Linked DNA regions of Homo sapiens: regions 2 and 3 are each linked to region 1. The links are contacts of gene promoters, found by promoter capture Hi-C in blood cells and fetal thymus (Javierre and others, 2016). All regions are on one chromosome and are shown on one strand. Each heading gives the region's core, a stretch centred on a gene start or on the middle of the fragment in contact. The rest is flanking DNA. Distances are from core to core; before and after follow the strand shown.

What was found. Contacts are between HindIII fragments. The CHiCAGO score rates a contact against its expected background, and 5 or more counts as called.
Region 2: a fragment that was not itself captured here is called in contact with the fragment with the promoter of LINC02869 in region 1 in 2 of 17 cell types (monocytes and M0 macrophages); the score reaches 6.1 in monocytes.
Region 3: a contact is called between a fragment that was not itself captured here and the fragment with the promoter of LINC02869 in region 1, in 1 of 17 cell types (M0 macrophages). The highest score is 6.3, in M0 macrophages.

Annotation. Positions count from the first base shown.
Region 1 is chr1:218,508,321-218,512,300 of GRCh38, forward strand. It overlaps LINC02869 (long intergenic non-protein coding RNA 2869), which reads left to right and starts at 1,775. Exons shown (of 3, transcript NR_146760.1): 1 at 1,775-1,867. The HindIII fragment of the contact is 5,893 bases long and covers 88-3,980 here.
Region 2 is chr1:219,661,900-219,665,879 of GRCh38, forward strand. No RefSeq gene overlaps it. Among named protein-coding and RNA genes, the nearest start is that of ZC3H11B, 51 kb to the left of the region's middle. The HindIII fragment of the contact is 1,116 bases long and covers 1,573-2,688 here.
Region 3 is chr1:219,576,594-219,580,573 of GRCh38, forward strand. No RefSeq gene overlaps it. Among named protein-coding and RNA genes, the nearest start is that of LYPLAL1-AS1, 21 kb to the left of the region's middle. The HindIII fragment of the contact is 3,359 bases long and covers 159-3,517 here.

The DNA.
Region 1 (3,980 bases), core at 525-3,024:
TTCGCGGCGAGTGTTACAGCTCATAAAGGCAGTGTGGACCCAAAGAGTGAGCAGCAGCAAGATTTATTGCAAGGAGCAAAAGAACAAAGCTTCCACAGTGTGGAAGTGGACCCAAGCAGGTTGCCACTGCTGGCTCGGGTAGCCTGCTTTTTTTCTTTTATCTGGCCCCACCCACATCCTACTAGGCTCATAGGCAGAAGGGACTTGCCTGGTCTCAATGAGACTGTGAACTTAAGACTTTTGGGTTAATGCTGAAATGAGTTAAGACTTTGGTGAACTGTTGGCATAATTGTGTCTGTTCTCATGTTGCAATAAAGAACTGCCTGTGACTGGGTAATTTATAAAGGAAAAAGGTTTAATTGACTCATAATTCCACAGGGGCTCAGGAAACTTACAATCATGGCAGAAGGGGAGGCAAATGTGTCCTTCTTCACATGGTGGCGAGAGAGAAGTGCCAAACAAAGGTGGAAAAACACTTGATAAAACCATCAGATCTTGTGAGAACTCACTTGCTATCATTAGAAGAGCATGAGAGAACCATCCCATAATCTAATCACCTCCCATGAGTTCCCTCCCCAACAGGTGGGGATTACAATTCAGATTACAATTCAAGATGGGATTTCAGTGGGGACACAGATCCAGACCATATCATTCTGCCCCTGGTCCCTCCCAAATCTCACCTTTCTCACATTTCAAAACACAATTATGCCAACAGTTCCCCAGCATAATAAAGTGCACAATAAATGTAATGTGCTTGAATCATGCTGAAACCATCACCTGCCGGCACTCCCCCTGCCCACCCCCTATGGTTTGTGGAAAAATTGTCTTCCACAAAACCAGTCCCTAGTGCCAAAAAGGTTGGGGGACTGCTGATCTATGGGACTATTGGGTTGGTTTCAGTGTGAGGTGCTGGTGACTGGCACCAGAGTGGGAGCAGTCAATACACCAGGGTATTATCATTGGTTGTCTCTGAGTGTTAAGATTATGGACTATTTTTCTGCTTCTTTGTGTATTTTTAGTCTTTGCACATGTTCTACAAAGAATAAATTACTTGTGTAATCATAGGAAATAAATACTACCTCTTACCCTCTCCCCTGCCCCAGTCTGGCATAATTGAAAAATGAACGCTTAGAGAAAGGAGGTCACCCAAGATCAGACTTCAGAATTCAAATTTAATAAGATCTACTTGTTATTCACGATAGAGTTTGTCAAACATTTTCACCAAATTTTAGCAACAAGTTTGAGTGCTGCAGGAGATAACGAGAAGTGAAAAGATGGTGAGGGAGACAAAACAAAACAAAATTGGCAAAGAAAAAGATGGCATTTTAAATAGCAACACGAACAGTCTGCCTAAGGACTAATCTACTGTGTGAGAAAATGATTTTTAATTGAAAAGTTCTTTTTGAGAAAGTTTTTTAAAAGTCTTATATAAAAATATGGAATATATAAGAATTTAACTAATACCTTGTGTTTAGGGTGCATTATAACTGTATAAGGAATTTTTACATGAAAATTTGGGAGAACAAGAGAGAACATCATGTAATAATGTGATTAAACTTGTTACTCAGCCATTTTACAAATTCTGGAATATAAAGGACAAGGTAGAGTATGTTCCAAGGCAGGCAGTGGCCACACACTGCTTGGCTTGTAGGCCCTATTAGGGATTTTGGTGTTTCTCCTAAAAACCAGTGGAAAACCACTGAAGTATTTTAAGCAAGAAGTAGCTTGATCAGGCTTGAGTTTCAAAAGGTTCACTTTTTTTTTTTTTTAAACAGGGGTCATATCAGAAAGATATGTTTGATGAAATTAACTACAGAATCAAGAAGTATATACTCAAAAATGCAAATACTACAATATATAAGACAATGTAAGTACATTTTCATTAAAAAATGAATTGTGTGAGTCCCAGAAGTTACAAGATTACACCGAGAAGAACGAGTGATCATAAAGTAAAAATATTCACGATTGAACTGACCACTTATGGAACTAACCCATGCTGTACTTTCTCCCACAACGTGGCCCTGGTTTCTGTTTCTATCGTCTCTGTTCCACCTCTGTCCATCTTATGTTATCTGTCTCTCATTGACTGTTGGTGGTTGACAATACCATGTGAACACAGAGTGAAATTACATCTCTTACAAAATATGAAGGATTTCATACAGACAATAAAGGTGATATTGGAGAACTGCTTCACCAATCATGGTCATTAACTGTGAGGATCTGTGAGACTTTAACCAGCACAGCATCACTGTGGCTGACTCAGCAATTTTTTTCCACTACCAATGATTAACCTAAGCAGATGATGGTAGTCCTGTTCCTTTTACCACTTATTTATTTCAGAATGAGTTAAGCAGGCATTAAAAGCGGACTATAACTGAGGGTCTCTTTTTAAGATTTTCAAGTTGGAAAATTCTGCTTTGATGCTAAGAGGCAGAATAAAACCCAGAAAGATTCATTCAATCTGACTTATTAATATTTGGAAGAGGTCAGTTTATTCTGCTCAGTTCAATTAAAATCAAATAACTTTAGTGGATAGGAATTATTCAAAAGTTTTTAATACTAGGATCTATTACTCTAGGCAAGCCATACCTAAGTAATCTATACAGTTAGGGGCAGGCTAATTTCAGGCAGCAGGAAACAGTCAGCTAAAATAGAGCAGAGACGGAGGAAAATACCACTTGGAGTGCCACTCACATGTTTAAGGGCAGACATGAAAAGGTAGGCAAGTGTTTCTCTTTCTTTTGGCAAGCATTTTATAGGAAAAATTCTACAAAGCTAGGAGACTACCTGGTAAAGCTAAGCCCATTTAGAAGGGGAGGGAAGGAAGAAAATAATGCAAAAAGTCAGAGTTCAGTATTGACAAGGGATCTTTTCATTGCATGTGATTGATGACTGACGGTTTGCCCCTGCTTTTTGATTCCTGTTTGCTGATTTCCCATTTTATTTACCCATAATCCACTCATTACTCTGATAAACCATGGAAGCAGTGGTCCACAAATCTGTGTTAGTTTCTCTGTTCTCTCTGCAGTCTTTTAGAGGTACCTGCTAACACAGCTTTAAAGATCCCCTGTAAGTCAAAATTAGCTATGCTTGGTGGCACATGCCCATAGTCCCAGCTACTTGGGAGGCTGAGGCAGGAGAATTGCTTGAACCCGAGAGGTGGAGGTTGCAGTAAGCAGAGATCACGCCTGGGTGACAGAGCAAGACTCCATCTCAAAAAAAAAAAAAAAAAAAGAAAAATCCCCTGTAAGTTAATGACTTCCACTTTCTATCTCTTGCCTTGAACGCCCATACTTCCTTCTCCCTACAGATAATCTACCTTGAAAGAATTTGCCACCATCTCACTAAACAGGTCAGTTTAATAAAATCATTGACTCCTAATAATCTTTGCCGCTGCGGTGTTCCTGGGCACTAGGCTGGTGCTTCTTAACTCTGGCTGCATGGTAGAAATGTGTGAGGAGTTTTTTTAAAAAAAGACTAATATCATCTCAGCTTGGAGAGACTAGAATTTGATTGGTCTGGGTCGGTTATTTGGTGATTTTTTTTTTTTTTTTTTTTTGACAGAGTCTCGCTCTGTCGCCCAGGCTGGAGTGCAGTGGTGCGATCTTGGCTCACTGCAAGCTCCACCTTCCCAGTTCACACCGTTCTCCTGCCTCAGCCTCCCAAGTGGCTGGGACTACAGGCGCCTGCCACCATGCCTGGCCAGTTTTTTTTTTTGTTTTGTTTTTTGTTTGTTTTTTTTTTTTTTTTGTATTTTTAGTAGAGACGGGTTTCACCGTGTTAGCCAGGATGGTCTCGATCTGATTTCGTGATCCGCCCGCCTCAGCCTCCCAGTGCTGGGGTTACTGGTGTGAGTCACCCCACCTGGTCTATTTGGTGATTTTATTGTGCAGCTAGGGTTAAGACAACCTAACTAAGCCCTGGGTTTTGGCTGCTCTTCTGCATGGTTTGTTCACTGTTCTCTGTGCATTTCTTCAGTC
Region 2 (3,980 bases), core at 881-3,380, 1.2 Mb after region 1:
ACTGTGTTGCAAAGAGTCTGGCCACTCATCATGACCCCCTATTCAGTCGACCGTCCATTAATCTAAACACAGGCTCTCTCAGAGACATCCAGAAGCCCAACAATGGTTTACATTTTTTGGATGCTACCTTCCGGTTACTGTACCTAAGTGGGGAAATGTTGCTGAGAGATATTCCAATTTGACTCCCAAACGGGTTTTAAGCAAGTTACCATCCACTTGCCCTAAGCACAAAAGAACAGGTTTTCTTTTCCTCTGCCAAGTATCAATTTTTATATCAGATAGACGTCAATTATTGCTAAAAAGCTGATACAATAATAATGGAGCAGCACACAGTGGGCAGAGTCCCACTGCAGTGAAATTGGATAAGGATTTGGTTTGATTATGTAACTTTTTAGAGCAGCATAGTTTCTGCTAATAGCATGATAAATAAACAGCATCTATAGAATGTCTGAAGAATGACAATTTTAAAAAGAAAGAAAAAACAAAGGTGACCCTTGAATGTCTCTGACAACTAATCAATTTCTGACTACCTTTTTAGTCCCTTCCCTTTACCTCACCAACAACTGCATGTCACCAAACAAGGTTTCCCAAAGAATCTCCTTCTTTCCCCTGCTGGATCAGGTGAATCATAGAATCCACCATACAACTGACAAAAAGTTTTGTTCTACCATAAAGCAATGTAAAGATTAAATGTAAAGCAATGGCCAGATTTCACTTGGAACTTTCTTCTTGTTCAAATTCACTGTAAAATCCCCTTGGTTTAAAACAATGCAAGGTATACGTCCATACCACCCTGAACGCACCCGATCTCGTCTAAAACAATGCAGGAAGAAAATCACGTATTCTGCCGGAAATTCATTTATTTATCTGTACTATAAGACCATTGACTATTCCCTCACTATTTCCATAGTTTTATTAATGCTACAGAAAGAGAAAGTAACATTTTTCCCCAAGATCCCTTCTCATTTTATGGAGTAGATATTTTGAGGCATTACCTAAGTACTCCCAAGCATCCAAATATCCAAATCTAAAATATCTAAAATATCCCAAATATCTAAACACCTCAGATGGGTAAAAGCCTACCTTTTTTTGGGAGATATTCATAAGAGGAAGAGGGAGAGAGCTCACATCCTTATTTTTAACTCATTGCTGTGTCTAAATATCCCCACTACCAGCATCTAAGCTGAATTCTCCCTAGAAATGCTCAGTGCTGGTTATCAGAAGAGAATATGACATAATGATTAACTAGCACAGTATTGACTGTTTCTACTTATCACCACCATGACAAACTGCAAGATCGAACTTCTACTCCATCCCTCATTTTTGTCCACATGAAATCAGAAACCAATTTGACCCATTTATTCACTGAAATGCTTTAATTAGATGGTCTCAGGTACTCTCCAGAAATTACTTTCACTTTCTAACTTCATCACCCACAACTTTTCGCCAGCCACCACCCCTTTAAAAAGACCTCCAACCCGGGTGCTTATTAAAATAGCAGAAGCCCAAGCTCCACCTAGACCTACTAAATTAGAAACTCTGAGATGGAGGCCCAGGAATCTGCATTTACTAAGCTTCCCCCATCACCAGGTGATTTTGATGCAAATGCATTTATTTTATTGCCGCCATAATTCTGAGGAATCACAGTAGAAGCTAACATTTATTAGACTTCTGTTTTTTGCCAGGCACTGTTTGAAACACTTCATACATGTATTAATTCTTTTAATTATCACAATAACTTTATAAGAGGGTACAGTTTTTACCCTTATTTAGATGTTGATTATCCTTTCTGAGATAAAGGGACATTAGGAAACTTATTCAAGAGCACACAGTTAGTATATGGCAAGAGAAAAGATTCAGATCCAGAGGATGTCATTCCAAGCCTGTCACTAAATCACCAGGTTTTACAATCTCTAAAACAATTATTTGTCCTCTGTCTTCTCTACTAGGCTATGAATTTGTTAAGGGCAGGAATCATAGCTTTTCATCCAGATAGCTGCAGCACTCATCCAAGTGTGTGATGAACTCAAGAAATGTTTATCGAATTGTTTATTAGGTTGGTGCAAAAGTAATTGCAGTTTTGGCCATTAAAAAGAGGTAAAAACCCAGCACTTTGAGAGGCTGAGGCAGGCAGATCACGAGGTCAAGAGATCGAGACCATCCTGGTCAACATGATCGTAGTAGAAACCCCGTCTCTACTAAAAATACAAAAATTAGCTGGGCATGGTGGTGCATGCCCCTAGTCCCAGCTGCTCGGGAGGCTGAGGCAGGAGAATTGTCTGAACCCAGGAGGTGGAGGTTGCAGTGAGCCAAGATTGCACCACTGCACTCCAGCCTGGTGACAGAGCCAGAATTCGTCTCAAAAAAAAAAAAAAAAAAAAAAAAGGTGAAAACCACAATTACTTTTGCACCAACCTATAAAATGTAGAATAAACCAAGATACAATGTTTTTGTCTATGGATAGTATTAGGCTGGTGCAAAAGTAATTGTGGTTTTTGCCATTACCTTTGCACCAACCTAATATCAGTGAGATTTTTAAAAAACCCAAAACCTCATTGACCACAAAAGTAAATAAATAAGTAAATGTGGCAGTGCTTTGGTGAAACACCAACGAGATGATGTCTGGTTTTCATTAAAAATCATAAGTAATATAATAAATATATCAAGTTAATTCATACCAGAAACCAAAGCTTACACAGCGTCATACTGTAATACCTCAGAAAGCAGTCCTGGGGACAACCAAGAGGTGCCCAGGGGTTTACTAGTGATCCCCAAACCATGTTGTCATGTCCCTGGGTCTAGGTGTAACTTCAAAACATAAAGAATACACAAGACTATATTGCTGCTTCATTCTGAGGAGAGGCATGTCACTCCTCTTCTTCCTTATCAAATACCTAGAAACTGCAGCCACACAGTTCAGTTAAGTAAACATTTCCAAATCTGTGAAGGAAGATCCAGCTAGCTGTACAGTGGTGGTAGTGCCTTTCAAGTTTGGCTCTGCTCCCTAAAAGGCATAGGCATTCACCTGTTTCATCAAGGTAGGGTATTGTCAGGTGTGTCCAAGTGCATTAGAAATGTCACCGATGTTACCAGCTGCTTCCTAAGAAGAAAAAAGACCTAGAACCCGAATTATGAACAAACAGAGTCTTATTTACATAACTGATATCAGAACTCACATGTTGTGTCCACACTTAGTCTAAGTCCAAATAAAACTGAGAAAGCACATAAACTATTCAGCCAGATATTTAGCATTTTATATATTTATAAGTATATATCTATATCTATATCTATATATCCATATCTATGGATAACTATGTAGACATTTTTCTATTTTTTAATCCAGATGTTCTGATGCTATATTTACATACGTATATACATAAATAGTCATAGTCATCAGATTTCTAATCTGTTGCTTCAACTCCCACATCTTCCAAGTTTTTGACTCAGCTAGGATCACAGGTACCCACTTCTGGATGCACACACCTCACACACAATGCTGACCCTGATGGGATTTTTAGATGAGTTTCAGGGGGTCTCAGGGAATCTCATTAAAAAAAAAACTGTCAGACCCCAGAAATTAACTATTTTCTTGTTTCCAGACTTGCTGAGGAAATATTTTTCTCTTTTTTAGAGAAAATGTATACACCATACCCTACAAGAGCATGTGTCATCTAAACTGTATAAGGGATCATTTGCTGTTGGTGACTTTGAAGTTCTGAATAAATACTCAGAACAAATATCATATTGAAAGTCAAGCCATTGACAGACATGGACACAGCCGCACATTGCCCAGCACTGCTTTGCTGCAGAGAGTTTGCTTTATAAGCTCACGACGCCAGGATAGTCCAGCATTTTGGTCACGTGGGGCTAAGACCAAATTATCAGACTGAAAAAGAAGCAGCCTTGCTTGTGCAGAGAAGGAGAGTCATCAGCATCCTGATTACTTTTAGTGATACAACATATATCTCCCTTTCTTTTCT
Region 3 (3,980 bases), core at 588-3,087, 1.1 Mb after region 1:
TTAAAAGCAGATCTAGGCTGACAAAGAAGGTCTGAATACCAATCTCTTCTGCCTTGGCCTTACTGACAATCAGAGGGAACCAAAACAGGGTAAAAATGGACCTAGACAGAGAGCCAGGAAGTGTGTGAAGGGAGTTCATTTAGACCAGTCACCTGGGAAGCTTTTTAACTATCCCAATGCCCATGGTCACCTCCGTGAGCAATTAAATGAGATTTCTTGGAGTGGGCCCAAGCATCAGCATTTTTAAAACTCTCTAGGTTACTCCCAAAGGCAGCCAAGTTTGGGAACCAATGCTTCCGACCATCAGCATCCACTGCTGCGGAGAAAAGTCAGGCTCTGCTTGAGCCTCAATCAGCCCCAGGCCCACAACCTCTTTCTATGTTTCTATGTTGCCTGGAGGGCAGAAAGCGGCTGTGAGCGATTTTCTAAGCTATCAATTCAGTATGCATAACCAAAAGGTTAGAGACACATCAGCAGAGGCGATTCTGTTTCAAGAAAAAGGACTTTAAGAATAGAATTAGTCTCTGCTCAGTTTACAAGGACAAAAAGCAACTGCTGCACCACCACCAGTGTGAGCCTCAGATGCCAAAGGTTTGGTAAAGGCTAAGTTTAATTGTTTCTAAGGAGAACAGGAAATATTTATTTAGGATTAGTGGCAGCTGCTCCAGGGGTACAGCTGGGGATGGTGGAAGATATAATTAAGAAAATTGTGTGAGGGAGGTCTGGAAAGCCACCAGAAGGGACAGCAGCCTTGGTAGAAGCTGTTTGCATAGGCTTTTTTGTGTGTGGGCAGCTGAGTGTTAATAGGCACTTCGGAGGAGAAAAAGATAAATATGCAGTCTAATTAGCAGCTGACTTAGGGTTGCAAGATCAAATGCAGGTAGAATCCTATTATAGCCTACACCACAGGTCCTCAAAATTGTTTTGTTGAGTGATTGCATCATAATGAGTACCTGGTAGAAATCATCACTCATATCTCCCTGTATTTTCTCACAATGCTCCCTCACCTAGAATGCCCTTCTAAAAGAGGTACATTTGGGAAGACAATGGAAGTTTATAATCATCATCAGAAATGTGCTAAAATTATCAAAAGGAAAGGAAGAGATGCCGTAAATAATGAACAAAAGTTAGGACTCTATTCATTCTTTAGTAATACCAAATGTGAGTTGTTTCAGCAAGATAAAAAATAAAAGTGACTATACCATTGCCCAAATACTCTGGGTCCTTAAACCCCAAACGGTTTAGTCAAACCTGATTCCTCGTCTTCTGTCCCTGTTGAAGGCATCAGTCTCTCTTGCAAGGCCCAAGTGGCCAAACGCCACCCACCCTGTGCATATCCCTGTGAAAAAAAGACCTTCCCTCTGTGGCCTCACCCCAAATTGTATGCACATTGCACATTTATTTCATTCTTCCTTGGATCCTATTGAGTTGTCCTACCTGCCTCCTCAACCAGGCTGTAAGTGGTAAAAGAACAGAGAATTTATTTTATCCATCTTGTAGGGGACTGTGTTCATAGTAAGTAAAGACTGAGTATCTATGAATTTGAATTACGTTAACTCAGATTCTCTCCAGAGAAAAGTTGTTTTTTTTTTTTCTCACAATACATTTCTCTCCTTCCCTACTAGTTCAAAAATGCTAAAATCAGAATGACTTTTAGATATGCCTACCAGGGGAAAAAAAATAGTTACAATGTGCAAGTACTCTCCTTTCAAAAGATATTGGGGGTTTTAAAGGATCTTAGAGAAAAATGGCCCAGTGCAGGTAAGTGACTTATGCAGGGATACTCAGCAGGTTAGGGCAGGCCAGAACTACAAGTGAAATTCAAGACTCCATGACTTCCAGCCTCTCCTCGATGTCCTTTCCCAAACTCCTGGGTGACATGACAGCCATTCTGAAAAGTTGTTCACTAACTGTCCTTCTGTTCAATAAATCCTTACTTGTCTACTGAATTAAATAATTTTGGAAATAGCTCCATCCTCTGTTCTAATTAAGATATCATTATCAGTGTTTCCTCCTCCATTTGTCTTAGCTTCTCTATTAATCATCAATTCTAACAGCTAACAAATATACTAGAGCTCCTCTCCCTCCAATACAGCCACTAGGCTACAGGAAGGCAATCTAAATTTAAATTTACTAAAATTAAGTAAAATTGAAAATCTTATCCCTAGTTTCCGTAACTACATTCAAAGGCTGAAGAGCTGCATGTGGCTAGTGGCTATGATATCGGACAGCACAGGTATAGAGCATTTCCATTGCTGCAGAAAGAAGCTACTAGGAAACTTGATAGATGAAAGAAAGGATCCTTATAATGTGAACAAGCATGCCCAAGATATCTGCCTGAAGTCTGAATTCTCTTAGTGAGATTTCTTCAAGGAGGCAGATGTGTGCATAGGTTTATCAGAGAATGCCTGAAAACTTAAATTTTTGTTTCATAGCACACCTTATTCAATCACCAGAAGACTTTAAGAATTTACTAGCAAATGTTTGGAACTCTTCTGTGGTGTAGAAAACTGTTCTTCCTTATCATCAAATAGTCCATCAGACCAAATTAGGTACGTTGTAAAGTGTCGGCATAGTTTTTGGTTTAAGGAGCCTCCCATTCCAAAATTTCATAGCCAGGAAAAAGTTATTATTTGAAGCCAGTATTTTTCAGTTTCTCCTACAGCCAGGTATGTGCTGGGTGCTTGATACTTTGTTGTTTTTAATCCTCTTAACAGTTCTTCGAGGTGTCATTGTCTACATTATATAGGTGAAGAGAATGAGCTACCCGGGTGTTAAATTACTTGCCTATTTTAGGGTGAACCAGCCATCTCAGCTTGCAAGGAACTGAGGGATTTTCCAGGATGCAGGATTTTCAGTGTCTGGGAACGCCTTAGACAAACTAAGATGGTTGGTCACCCCATCAGGTCACAAAATAAATAATTTCAGAACAAAAATCAAACTGAAGTCTTTCTAGCTCCAATGCCCAAATGTGGATAGACCTAGAATAAAATTCAAATGTGGTTATATAACAAAAATTTCTTTCTTTCTTTTTTTTTTTTTTTTTTTTTTTTTTGAGACAGACAGAGTCTCTCTCTGTCGCCCAGGCTGGAGTGCAGTGGCGCGATCTCGGCTCACTGCAAGCTCTGCCTCCCGGGTTCACGCCATTCTCCTGCCTCAGCCTCCCGAGTAGCTGGGACTACAGGCACCCACCACCACGCCCGGCTAATTTTTTGTATTTTTTTTTTTTTTTTTTTTTTTAAGTAGAGACGGGGTTTCATCATGTTAGCCAGGATGGTCTTGATCTCCTGACCTTGTGATCTGCCCACCTCAGCCTCCCAAAGTGCTGGGATTACAGGCGTGAGCCACCGCACCCGGCCAAAAATTTCTTTCTTTTAACATCCCTCATAATTCTGTCCTTATTTCCTTCCTCTGTTTCCAGTTATCACTGGATTGCAAATCCAATGTGAAGATTTAGAGTCTATGTGATCAGATTTTCTGTTTTTGCTCATTCCCAGTTTTCTTCCTACATAAATTAAGCTTTGTGTTGACATTCCAGTAATTCAAATAATCCCATAGGATTTCAGCAGTTTGTTTACTGGCTTGGCAAGGGTTTGTTTACTGGTTTGGCACCCCTTGCAATAAAATCGAAAGCTTCTGACTCATTCCTTTATATACTTTGGCTTGTCTTTTAAAAGATTCAGTTGAGTACATTTGACCGTTCACGTCTCTTCAATGTTCTTTGCCTGCTCCATATGCAGGAGAGAGAAAACTGTTGGGCCACCCCAGTGCTAATGAAAATGTGAGCACCATCACCATCACAAGAACACTGGTATGAAAAGCAAATTCATGAGTCTTACCTCAGATCTAGAGAGTCAGAATCTCTAGGAATGCAGACCAGCAATCTATGTTTTAACAAGCCCTCCAGGTGATCCATATGCACATTAAGATTTAAGAAGCACTGGGCTATACTAGATCAGTGGTTCCCAAAGATTGCTAAA